Regions from separate parts of the Homo sapiens genome. Here all the other regions are linked to region 1. The links are contacts of gene promoters, found by promoter capture Hi-C in blood cells and fetal thymus (Javierre and others, 2016). All regions are on one chromosome and are shown on one strand. Each heading gives the region's core, a stretch centred on a gene start or on the middle of the fragment in contact. The rest is flanking DNA. Distances are from core to core; before and after follow the strand shown.

Region 1 (3,337 bases), core at 838-3,337:
ATATACTAATGTTAAAGATCGCCTCGACTTCCCTGTTTCCTTTCCCATTTCCCGGAATTCTGAGCTATGGATCCAGAACAGAAAGACAACAGAGATGAACAGGAACCTAGTGCCATGGTCAGCCAGGTCACAGGAGCCAGTGACAGACTGTGTAGCAGTCTAAGCAATGCCACGGAAGCCGGTTCTGGAAGGCACATGTACATGCTTGAGCATTTCTCTCTTCCCACCCGCCAGCTCCCCTGCATCAGCCTGGGCCTTCATCTCCAGAACAGCGAAGGCACAGGCTTTTGTGTTCTACTGTGGGTGGAGAAAGAAACACATGATTTTGTTGTTATAATTTAGCATCGGTAAAATGGCTGTTATTTTAAGAGATGCTACGTTGTTAAAGGAAAGGAAGCTAATTTGGACAAGGAAAGAGCCGTGTGCGCCTCAGAAGTCAGGAGAGATTACAGGATTGGGAATGGAGAGGGGCTGCCCTGTGGATGAAAGCACCAGCTGCAGGGTGCGGGGGGGAGCTGGTGGGAGGTGCAGGGATGGGGTGGGGAGGCTGGCAGCAGTGATGCTGGTGTGATCTGCGCACACACCACGGCACGGCTCGGTGCTGTCCCCACGTGCTGGTGGAACAGCCATGCGCATAAGCTCCCGCTCATCTGCTGAGCCACGGGACGAGGCTGGGTGTTCTCATGACAATGAGGCAGCTGCTTATAAGAAATCAAACCCTGCTCTCCACTGACACCACAGCCCCTTCCTTGTCAAAGGCATGACGGAGCGGGGCAGGGACACCGGTCCAGCTCTATTTATGAGACCTTGATTAAGTGGTGTACCCCTGTGTTTTAGCTTTTTTTCACAGGGGAGGGGGACACAAGGCTGTTGCAGAGATCACAGGGCAGATGCCCCAAACTTAGTGGACAGCAGTGGGGATGATGCCACTGGAAGGTGGCACAGGCAGGATCACGAGTTTTCTAAAGGCAGAAGTTGACATTCTTGGTTTAGAGATGCCACCAAACAAGGAAGGCACACAAGCACTGGGAAAGTCCCTACACCCCGAGAATGGGAAGCTGAGGCTGCAAGGTTCTCCCTGACCCTAACCCTCACCCCTACCCCTAACCCTGCTCCGACCACCTGCCCCCAGCTGGGCTGGGACTGGCAGCCAGGCTTGGGAGCCGCAGGGGTGGGTGAACCCCATGGCTGGACAGGTGCACCTCCTGGTCACCAACTTCACAAGGCACCAACTCCAGGGAAGGCCACCACTACCGTAACAAATCCAGACTCAAACGGACCACACACATACACACATGAGCACACCACACACCACACATACACTCACCACCCCCACCCCACATGACACTGAACAGGCCAAAGACTGTTCCAACCACAGGAATCATCACTCATCCTCCTCTTCTGGCTAAAGTGACCAATTATGACTTTGCCTCTTATTTAACCCTGTTGCCTCCCAGATGAGATTTTTAAGATACCCAATCATAGAATTATCTGTGTTCTCTGGCCCCAAAAAACTGCACTTAAATTGTAAAAATGTGGGCCGGGTGTGGTGGCTGATGTCTATAAAACCAGTGCTTTGGGAAGCCAAGGCAGGAGAATCACTTGAGCCCAGGAGTTTGAGACCAGCATGGGCAACATAGAGAGATCTCATCTCTACAGAAAATTTTAAAAATATTAGGTGGGTGTGCTGGTGTGCACCTGTGGTCCCAGGTACTCGGGAGGTTGAGGCAGGAGGATGGCTTGAGTCCAGAAGTTCGAGGCTGCAGTGAGCTTTGATTGTACCACTGCACTCAAGAGTGTTATTACAGACATGACCCACGTTAAAACTAGAGAAGACATGGGTTATGGAATGAGGCAAATAAGCTGCGAATAGAATTCAGGCGTGAGGCTCTGAGGAGGAGAAAGAGGATTATGACTTCAATCGTCCTCCAATGATGCTGAAGTCTTAACCCCCAGGACCTAGACATGTGACCTTATTTGGAAATAAGGTCTTTGAGGGTGCTCAAGGTCAGATGAGGTCTTTAGGATGGGCCCATTCCAATATGACCGCTCTCCCTATAAAAAGGGGAAATTTGGGCCCAGAGACAGACACACAGAGAGGACAGATGATGAGAAGACAGAGAGAAGACAGCCGTCTATAAGCCAAGGAATGCCAGAGCTCCGGGAACCTGGGAGAGAGGCAGGGACAGATCCTCCCGCACTGTCTCAGAAGGAACCAGCCCTGCAGACACCTTGATGTCGGCTTTCAGCCTCCAGAGCTGTGAGACCATACATTTCTGATGTCTAAGCTGCCCAGTCTGTGGCAGTTTGTGACCTCAGCCCCAGGAAACCAGTACAAAGAGCTTAAGGAGGTACAGGCTTGGTGACTAGAGGGAGGAAAATGGAATCTAGAAAAAAAGACGTGAGAAATAAGGTTGCAAGGTCCTTCTGAGAAGAGAATGCTCCAGAGCTGGCAGTGGGAAAGGCGTGGTGGCAGGAGAGGCTCAGAGGCTGGAGGGTGCACAGGAAGGGGTCTTGTCTCCCTCCATGGCTGCCTCCCGCGCCTCTGACCCCAGCCTCCCCTGAGGAAATGATGCTGGGGTCTCTGCAGGCTACTAGGTAGCCCCTCCTTCAACACCAGTGTGTGTTTGTTGCAAAAATGAAATTGTATATTTCATGATTTACCTTGGAAAAATAGGGTTCCACCACCCATTTTAGAATAGTCTACTTTTTTTGGCGGGGGAGGGTTCTTAGTCTGTTACACCAGGAGGAATATTTCTTTGATTGTTGACTTTTAAATGTTCATTTGGAGCTTGGCTTCTAACTTAATTCACCGTTTCCTAAAAAGTCTGATTTCTGCTCATTAGAAATAGAATGAGCAGAATGAGCAGCCTGTCCTATGCACAGGTTGGTTTAGTGCTCATGTCAATACTGTTTGCTTCTGGGGTGTTTGGAGAACCTGAAGGATGAAGAAGAGAGGACGGAGCTGCCGCAGTTTGTGGCTACTCACGGGAGGGCCTGGGAGGCCGGGGAATCCATCGAGCCCATCGCGGCCTGGGCTGCCATCGTCACCTTTCATCCCGGGCACACCTGGGACGCCGGGCTGTCCCCGCTCACCTAGAAAGGGATTTGCATGTGAAGCTGCCCAGGCAGGTGCCCACAGGAAGGCTCAGTGCCCCAGGGGCCGCGTGGCCAGAGAGGAACTCACCTTTGGTTGTGATTGTTCTGGAATCTCCTTTTGCTCCTTTGGGTCCGGGAGCACCAATGTTGCCAGGCACTCCCTGTGGAAAACAGACAAAAAAATATCTTCCTTCTTTGTACTGTGAGGGCATCTGAGAAGATGGCTGGCAAGCTTTTT
Region 2 (3,473 bases), core at 518-3,017, 230 kb after region 1:
CCCGAACAGGGAGAGTGAGCTGCACATTCTCGTTTCCAGCTCCACTTCCTAGTTCTGCCCACCGTAAAATCTGCCCTTTTGCCATGCGCTGTGGGACCTGTTAGACTCAGGAGAGACCATCATACAAATTGATGGCTCTTGATTTGCAGCTGTATCTGGAGCTTACCGAATCTAGTGCAGCTTTAAAAATAGGGAGCCGATTCTGTTTCCAAGTTCAGAAGGAGCAGCAGAAAATGAAGTATCTCGAATGGCAGATCACATGCCATGACTTTTAAAGCCCAGAGCACTCTCCAGGAGTACAGGCTGTCATTGGTGTGGCCCAGCACCGGCAGCCTCTGTCCCGACTATTTATGGGAAAAAATATTTTTTTGTAAATATGATCTTGACAAAACATTGGCTGGCAGGAAAATAGCTTTCTTTTCAGGGGAGCAAAATGAGAGTGTATATTTTAATTCAAGATCAAAGACTTAACATAAAACAAACCCTGACAAATGAAAACTGGGCAATGGGATTTTCCTCCTGTTTGTTGGTAGAATATTTTGAGCATTCAAACACGTTTCTAGACAGCAAGTTGTGATGCTAGATAATTAGGTAGTGTGGGTGTGGAGAACTGCACGCTCAAAAATGGTATTAACAGACCTTCATCCTTGTGAAGTGGTTTAGCACAATGTGCAATTAAACAAAGGAAGAATTAGTCAGAGTTAACGAGCAAACCAGATGGCTCTGGGGACGTGGTGCCCCTTTGTCAGATTTTTCTTCCTTTGGCAAATCCATTAAACATGGTAAAAGTATACTTCATATAGCTTAGCTTTGGTTCGTCACATAGTTTTATGAGTTTAATGCTAACTGGCCCCAAATTCAATGATTCTGGATTTCCTCACATGAGAATCTGACACGAGAAGCTAACAGTGATTCCTGGCTAATTTCTAAAAAGCTGTAGTGAAATCAGAAGGGTTAAAGACCCTTGGTACGGTTTCTCCTTTATTAGATATTTGGACAAATACCTGAAGGTAATGAATGATAGATGTGAATTTCTTACACACGTCTTGCTAGAGCTTGAGGACTTAACCAGAGAATTTTCTGTGGGCGTCCCGCTGTAGCATGTTAGGGCCTTAGGTTAATTTGCCCTCCTAGGTGAGAAATCCACAACCCTAAGACTTGAGTACCCAAGTCTGTGGCATGTGGTGACATGCTTGATTTTGAAGTGGTTTTCCCTAGAAGATTGGTAAAGGAATGACATCTGTCTATAGTAGAGCCAGTAAATTCCTTGAGCTGGAGAACCAATGTCCACTCATCCCAGTGCCTCCTTGTCCTGTGGGCTCCTGCTGTACCCGTGGGCCTGGGTAGTGGCCAGCGGCAGTCCTGGAGCCTGCCCTACAGGTTCATGATGGAAGATGCTAGCCAGTAATAGCACAACTGAACCCCCAAGTGAACACTCTGCTAAGACCTCCAGGGAGGGAGAAGGCACGGCTGCGAGAATGGATGTCCAATGGGAAGAAATTGATCTGCAGGGGGCAGGGAAGGGCAAACCGAACGGTCATTCGCAGGCCCCAAAAGCTCAGGCAGCCGCTCAGGTGCGGTGGCCCATGATTTACGCCTCCAAATTCCATTTCCCTGTTTGACGTCAGGTTTTTCCCGATTTGGAAATGTTGGTGCTTTGAGAAATGTCCATGGACAACTGTGCCTCCTCACCTCCCCCTTCTCACTTCCACGTACAAGACTCCAGAATGTTAAAGGACACATCTCCATGAGTGTGAAACTGTTTGTCGCTGTTTGACTCTCTGTGTCCCCATGTGGGGCTCCCCAGTCTCATCGATATGTCCTGGGCAAGGGCAAGAGGCACCTCGGTGGATCTTGTTCCCACACTGACTGTCTCCTCACCACGCGGGCTGGAAATGCTGTGTGTTTTTCTGAGTCAGGGCTTTGGGAGGCAGCACCCTGTCTCCAGGTTCTTGGAGTTTTATGGATGCAACGTCATTAATCATCCTGACGGGGCTGATGTGGGTGGCAGGTGTTGGGTTCTGCCTCCTGATTGGGAGGAGGGGCTGGGTGCCCTGCCCTGAATCTGAATGTAGAGGCCCTGGGTAAACGGGTGTGCCCTGTCCTGCCTGGACCACACATCAGGAGCCCTGGGAGCAGAGGTTCCGGGCGGCTGGAGGCCTCCTTGCTTCCGCCTCTGCACGTGGAACCTGCATTTCTTCACAGGAGACCGTGGCTCCACAGGTGTCCTGCCTGTCAGGGCAGAGGAACATACCACGGGGGGACTTCCAGCAAACGTGAGGAACAGCACGCTGGCGTGACTGGGGCAGAAAGCAGAGTGGTGTTTTCTTCTTTGGGGGCCTTTGATAGGGACCTGGGCAGGGTGTGGTGGGGGCCGGAGGTGCAGTGGCTTCTGCAGGAGGCTGGGGAGGCTCCCCGTGGTCTTAGAGGAGGTGCACCACCCGTCCCACCTCACTCGCCCCCTTTACCCTTCTTCCCTTTATAAAATTTCTGCCCTTTCTGTTCCTCCCACCACAATTTCCCATCCACTTTTCCTTTCTCTCTGTTCAGGGCTCATGTACACCTGTGTGATTTTCCAGGGTGTCACGACGAGCCCTGATGACCCGCGCCTGCCACCTGTGTGCTTTGTCCTCTCTACTTCACATGTGTGCATGCACACATCACGTGCATGCACATATCACATACACGCACACACCACACACATACATATACACGCACCACACACATAACATATACACACACCACACACACATACATACCACACACACCACTTACATATACATGGAACACACACCGTGCACACCCACACCACGGGCACACACTCACACACACACGCACTTTCTTCAGGAACCTCCCAGCCCTCCCCCTCCACCACGTGGCCTGAATGGAGCCCTCCTCGTCCACCTGTTTTGGGCTTGGTTCTGCTCCTTTTTCCTGAGTGGGGGATTTTGGAGGGTGCTGCCCTTGGGCACTCAGTGTGGATTTGATGCTGTGGAAGGGGACAGGAGAGCTGGTGGGCCAAGCTGGGAGGGCAGTTACCGTGGAGTGAGAGCCAAGGCCAGCCGGCAGAAGTCACCCACAAGAGGGTGAACGTCGGAAGTGGGGCCCAAGGAAATTACTGACATTTTACAGGGCAGAGGCATAGGGCTTTTTCTTTTCCTCTTAGTCTCCCCAGGATGCTGTAATAGGATACCACAGACTGGGTGGTTTCAGCAGCAGAAGTGTGTTCCTCCCGTGCTGGAGGCTGGAAGTCCAAGATCAAGGCTCCAGCAGATTCGAGGTCGGCTGTGGACCCCTTCTTCATAGGCAGCGCGAGGGCGGGGGCTCTCTCTGGGGTCTTTTTTCTAAGAACACTAATTCTGTTCATGAGCCTCATCACTTCCCAAGGCCCCACCTCCATGCCATCACCTTGGGGGTTAGAATTTCCACACAGGAATTTGGGGCGGGGCATGGACATTCAGAACACAGCACTT
Region 3 (3,473 bases), core at 554-3,053, 180 kb after region 1:
AAGGCTCCTGGCCTGTGGCCACCACTGTCATACAGCGCTGTTCCTTGGGCTGGAGGGAGAGCTTTTGCCACCTCATCTCCCATCCTGTCGACATGTGACAGCTTTGCCAGCCCAGCCACAGTGACTAAAGTCTTCAGGGTCATGAAAAATAACCCCCCAAATGCCACCCACTGCTGCTGTCCAAGCTCACCCCACCAGCATAAGGCCTGGCTTAGTATGGTGGGACCTGGGCATGGTGAGCCCCAGATGAGCTCACAGATGGCAGGCAGTCTTTGAGGGAAACTTTGATGTGCATGTGTGGGTGTGTGCATGAGTGTGAGAGCATGCACATGCCTGTGTGCATGTGCCTGAGTGTGCATTGTGTTCATATGTGTGCCTGTATGTGAGGGAGTGTATGCATGTGTCTGCATATGCAGATGTCTGTATACACAGAAAGGTGTGTGCAGGTGCACATGTGCGTGTGTGTGCGTGAGAGTGTGCGTGTGCCTATGGGGCGCCCAGACACCTTGGCCCTTCCCTTTGTATTCTTGCTGTTCTTAGTGAGTTTACATCATGGCTTGGGCACGGCTCACATTCTCATCTCCCTACATTAGTGACATCAACACATTTCACATTTGGCTTATTAGCCACTTCTATTCAATGTCAAAAAGCAAATGTATGATTTAAAAACTAGCTGCTGACATAAAATTTTCTAGTCTACATTATTCTTTATTTTCTTGAACCTCTCTTTTCCTGAAATCTCTGATTCGATGACTCGTCTTTTCTGAACATATTATATTATTTGATGACAGAGAGAATCAAGTAATTACTCTTCAGTCTCTGTCTTTCCTATGAAGAACTGAACATCCTTCAAACTGGGAACACTAAATAAAACATGGTAAGGAGAGAACTGAATCACAGGCAAGGCAAAGAGAGAGAAAGATACCATGCAATTGCTTAAAACTAACTGAAGCCTTTATGCTTGGAGGTGAGGCCCCAGGGCCTCAGGGGCACCTGGAAGCGACTGGGATCACTGGCTCATTTTGATTTTGAAATGTGGAGACATGCAGGAAGATTGGAGAGGGCAATGTTCCGATGGCCACGAAAGAACAAAATTGAATTCCAGAAATCACATATCAGTGAACTTAGCATGGACAATTATATTTCCAAATTGATTTTTTTTGACAGAAAGCTTGTGAATACTTAAATAAAGAGTTCATGATCCCTGGAAGCCAACACAGGTGCCCCAAAACAGGTCAGGAGAATCAGTAGGCACAGCAGGGATGCCATTCAGGGACATATACTTCAGGGTACAGACCCTGTGCTTGGAGAAGCCATGTCCCAGGGTAGGACACACAGTTATGTGAGAGCACTTCATCTCAATGACCTTGGCAGGGCCTCAAAATTCTCCCCAATTCAGAGCTCCTGCAGCCATCCTTGACTGGTAGGAATTGACACTTGAGTTGAAACCAGCTTGCCATTGCTAATCTAAAGGATGTGCATTGGAAGTGAGGACAGGGTGACTTGCGTGGATGCAGCCATGCCAGGGAAGGTACAGTAGGGATGAAGATGGCATTGAGGAGACACAATGAACAGCTTAGAATGCACAGCATGAGTAGGAAAGTGATAATACCTAAGAGTCACCACCAGCTTCCCTTGATGTGCCAGTACTCTACATGAGTCCCCCACAGTCTGCGCAATGACAGTGTGAGGTGGGTTGTCTTACTCCCATTTTATTGATGAGAAAACAAAAGGTCAAGGACTTTTCTCCACTAGTATTCAAACTCAGGTCTGTCTGAATCCAAGTTTACAATATTGACATTGATATGCCACCTCTCCAGCATTGGTAGGGAATTCTGACAAGGGGAGAGAGGTCAAATTGTAAAAGTTTTATACACTAGAAACTGGTGAGTAATTGGTGATTTGTGACCAAGGGTCTTTGCTGGGGAGAATCCTCTTAAGTAAGACTAGGTGGATAATGGTAAGCAGGCCCTAAGGTGAGGCGAGGACACGCAGCCAGGAAAACTGAAGGGAGCTGTTGTGTTTCAGGCATAAACTGATGGAGATCTGAGCAGGGAAGGTGGCCAGGGGAATGCGAAAGAAACTGTAGATGTCAGGGCCTTTTGCAGAAAACATCCACAGAACTGTGTGCCGACTCTCTGAAGGGCAGAGAAACAGATGGGTTGAGTAAGTTTACTAAAATGTGAGAGGGGAATTGATGTTCCTGCCAGATTGGTAAACGGCCATACCATTAGAAGAAGAGTCCCTTATTTTGTGAAAATTCATTGGCTGAGAGGTACTAATTATTTCAGATAGTGGAGGTAAAGTGGGTAAGACTTTACTCTTTGATCAAGGGTCTACCCAAATCTTGACTAGTCTTCTTAATTACTTAATTTATAGATTTTTGATGAAATTGAGTTTCTGTGTGAGCCCCCATAGTGGAAATCTAAGCTTCCTACTGTTTTTTTTAAACATTTTCTCTCTATATTGCAGCAGGTAACCACTTCCTCTTCTCTTTCCCTTCACTGCAGTTTGTGAATGATCTGGCTGTTTTTGGCTTATGGCACATCTGGGTTCTCCTTTGGTCCTTCTCAAGAATTAATTACTGTTCATAAAGTATTTTGAAATAATGTCAGAAAATGTCCTTCAAGGAGCACAGAGTACTTTTTGGAACATTAAAAAATTCTCAGTATTTCTGCTTCTCACGTTTTGTTTTGGGAAATAAGAATTCTGGCTGTAGGAGATGGCGGGGGGAGGTTAGTCTTCCCAGAGTCGTGTCATCACAGAACAGTGTTGCTCCTTACAGCTGTTATCCCAAGAGAAGAAAACGGGAGAGAGTGCCGGCCACGTTTTGTGGCTTACACAAGCCAGTTGATGGTGTCAAAGATGTTGTTGAGTTCTCTGGCCAAAGGATGTTCTGTTTTCTGAAAAAGTTTAGAGCTGCAGAATTGTTTTTATGCTCGAGTGGCTAAAAAAATGGGACACATGGTTGGGGTGAGGAGAAAAGCCATATTTTACTGATCCAAAGGAATTGGATCACTCCTGAAGCAAACAAAGTATAATACGGCGATCTAAGTAGATAGTTGCATATATTGAACACAAAGGCAGAGCATTAGAGTAAGAAACCTTCAGCCAGATCTCGGATGTATTTCATAACATGTGTTCGTTGAAAGAATATAAGAAAGGCTCTAGGTCTTGAAAAAAGAAAGAAAATTCTCCTTCACATTTATATTCATGTATTACTAGCAAGATTACAAGTTCTCAGAATAGCACCAAGATGAAAGAGGCTTACCAGAATTATTGAAAAGGGGATTTTTCGAGGCCACTTATAAAACCAACACACCAAATTTGGTGTTGCAGATGTAGGCGTGGGATTGTCCTCTGTCTTCAGAGGTGTAATACGTAAAGCCCATGCCATGCGGCGCTGCTAAGCCAAAGCAAACCATGATTTGTGAGCAAGAACTTGAAGATTCTATATAATTCATTTTTTGAAT

Evidence for each region. The method cuts DNA at HindIII sites, captures the fragments that hold promoters and counts their contacts. A CHiCAGO score of 5 or more calls a contact.
Region 2: a contact is called between a fragment that was not itself captured here and the fragment with the promoter of COL4A2-AS2 in region 1, in 1 of 17 cell types (endothelial precursors). The highest score is 6.8, in endothelial precursors.
Region 3: a contact is called between a fragment that was not itself captured here and the fragment with the promoter of COL4A2-AS2 in region 1, in 1 of 17 cell types (endothelial precursors). The highest score is 5.8, in endothelial precursors.

The regions. Positions count from the first base shown.
Region 1 is chr13:110,462,037-110,465,373 of GRCh38, reverse strand. It overlaps COL4A2-AS2 (COL4A2 antisense RNA 2), which reads left to right and starts at 2,087. Exons shown (of 5, transcript NR_171022.1): 1 at 2,087-2,351. COL4A2 (collagen type IV alpha 2 chain) reads right to left here. Exons shown (of 48, transcript NM_001846.4): 23 at 3,188-3,260; 24 at 2,990-3,096. The HindIII fragment of the contact is 13,540 bases long and covers 1-3,333 here.
Region 2 is chr13:110,229,523-110,232,995 of GRCh38, reverse strand. The region is part of intron 2 of COL4A1 (collagen type IV alpha 1 chain); the gene reads left to right. Among named protein-coding and RNA genes, the nearest start is that of COL4A1, 76 kb to the left of the region's middle. The HindIII fragment of the contact is 7,457 bases long and covers 1-3,473 here.
Region 3 is chr13:110,280,507-110,283,979 of GRCh38, reverse strand. The region is part of intron 1 of COL4A1 (collagen type IV alpha 1 chain); the gene reads left to right. Among named protein-coding and RNA genes, the nearest start is that of COL4A1, 25 kb to the left of the region's middle. RefSeq lists an enhancer at 59-559. The HindIII fragment of the contact is 1,259 bases long and covers 1,174-2,432 here.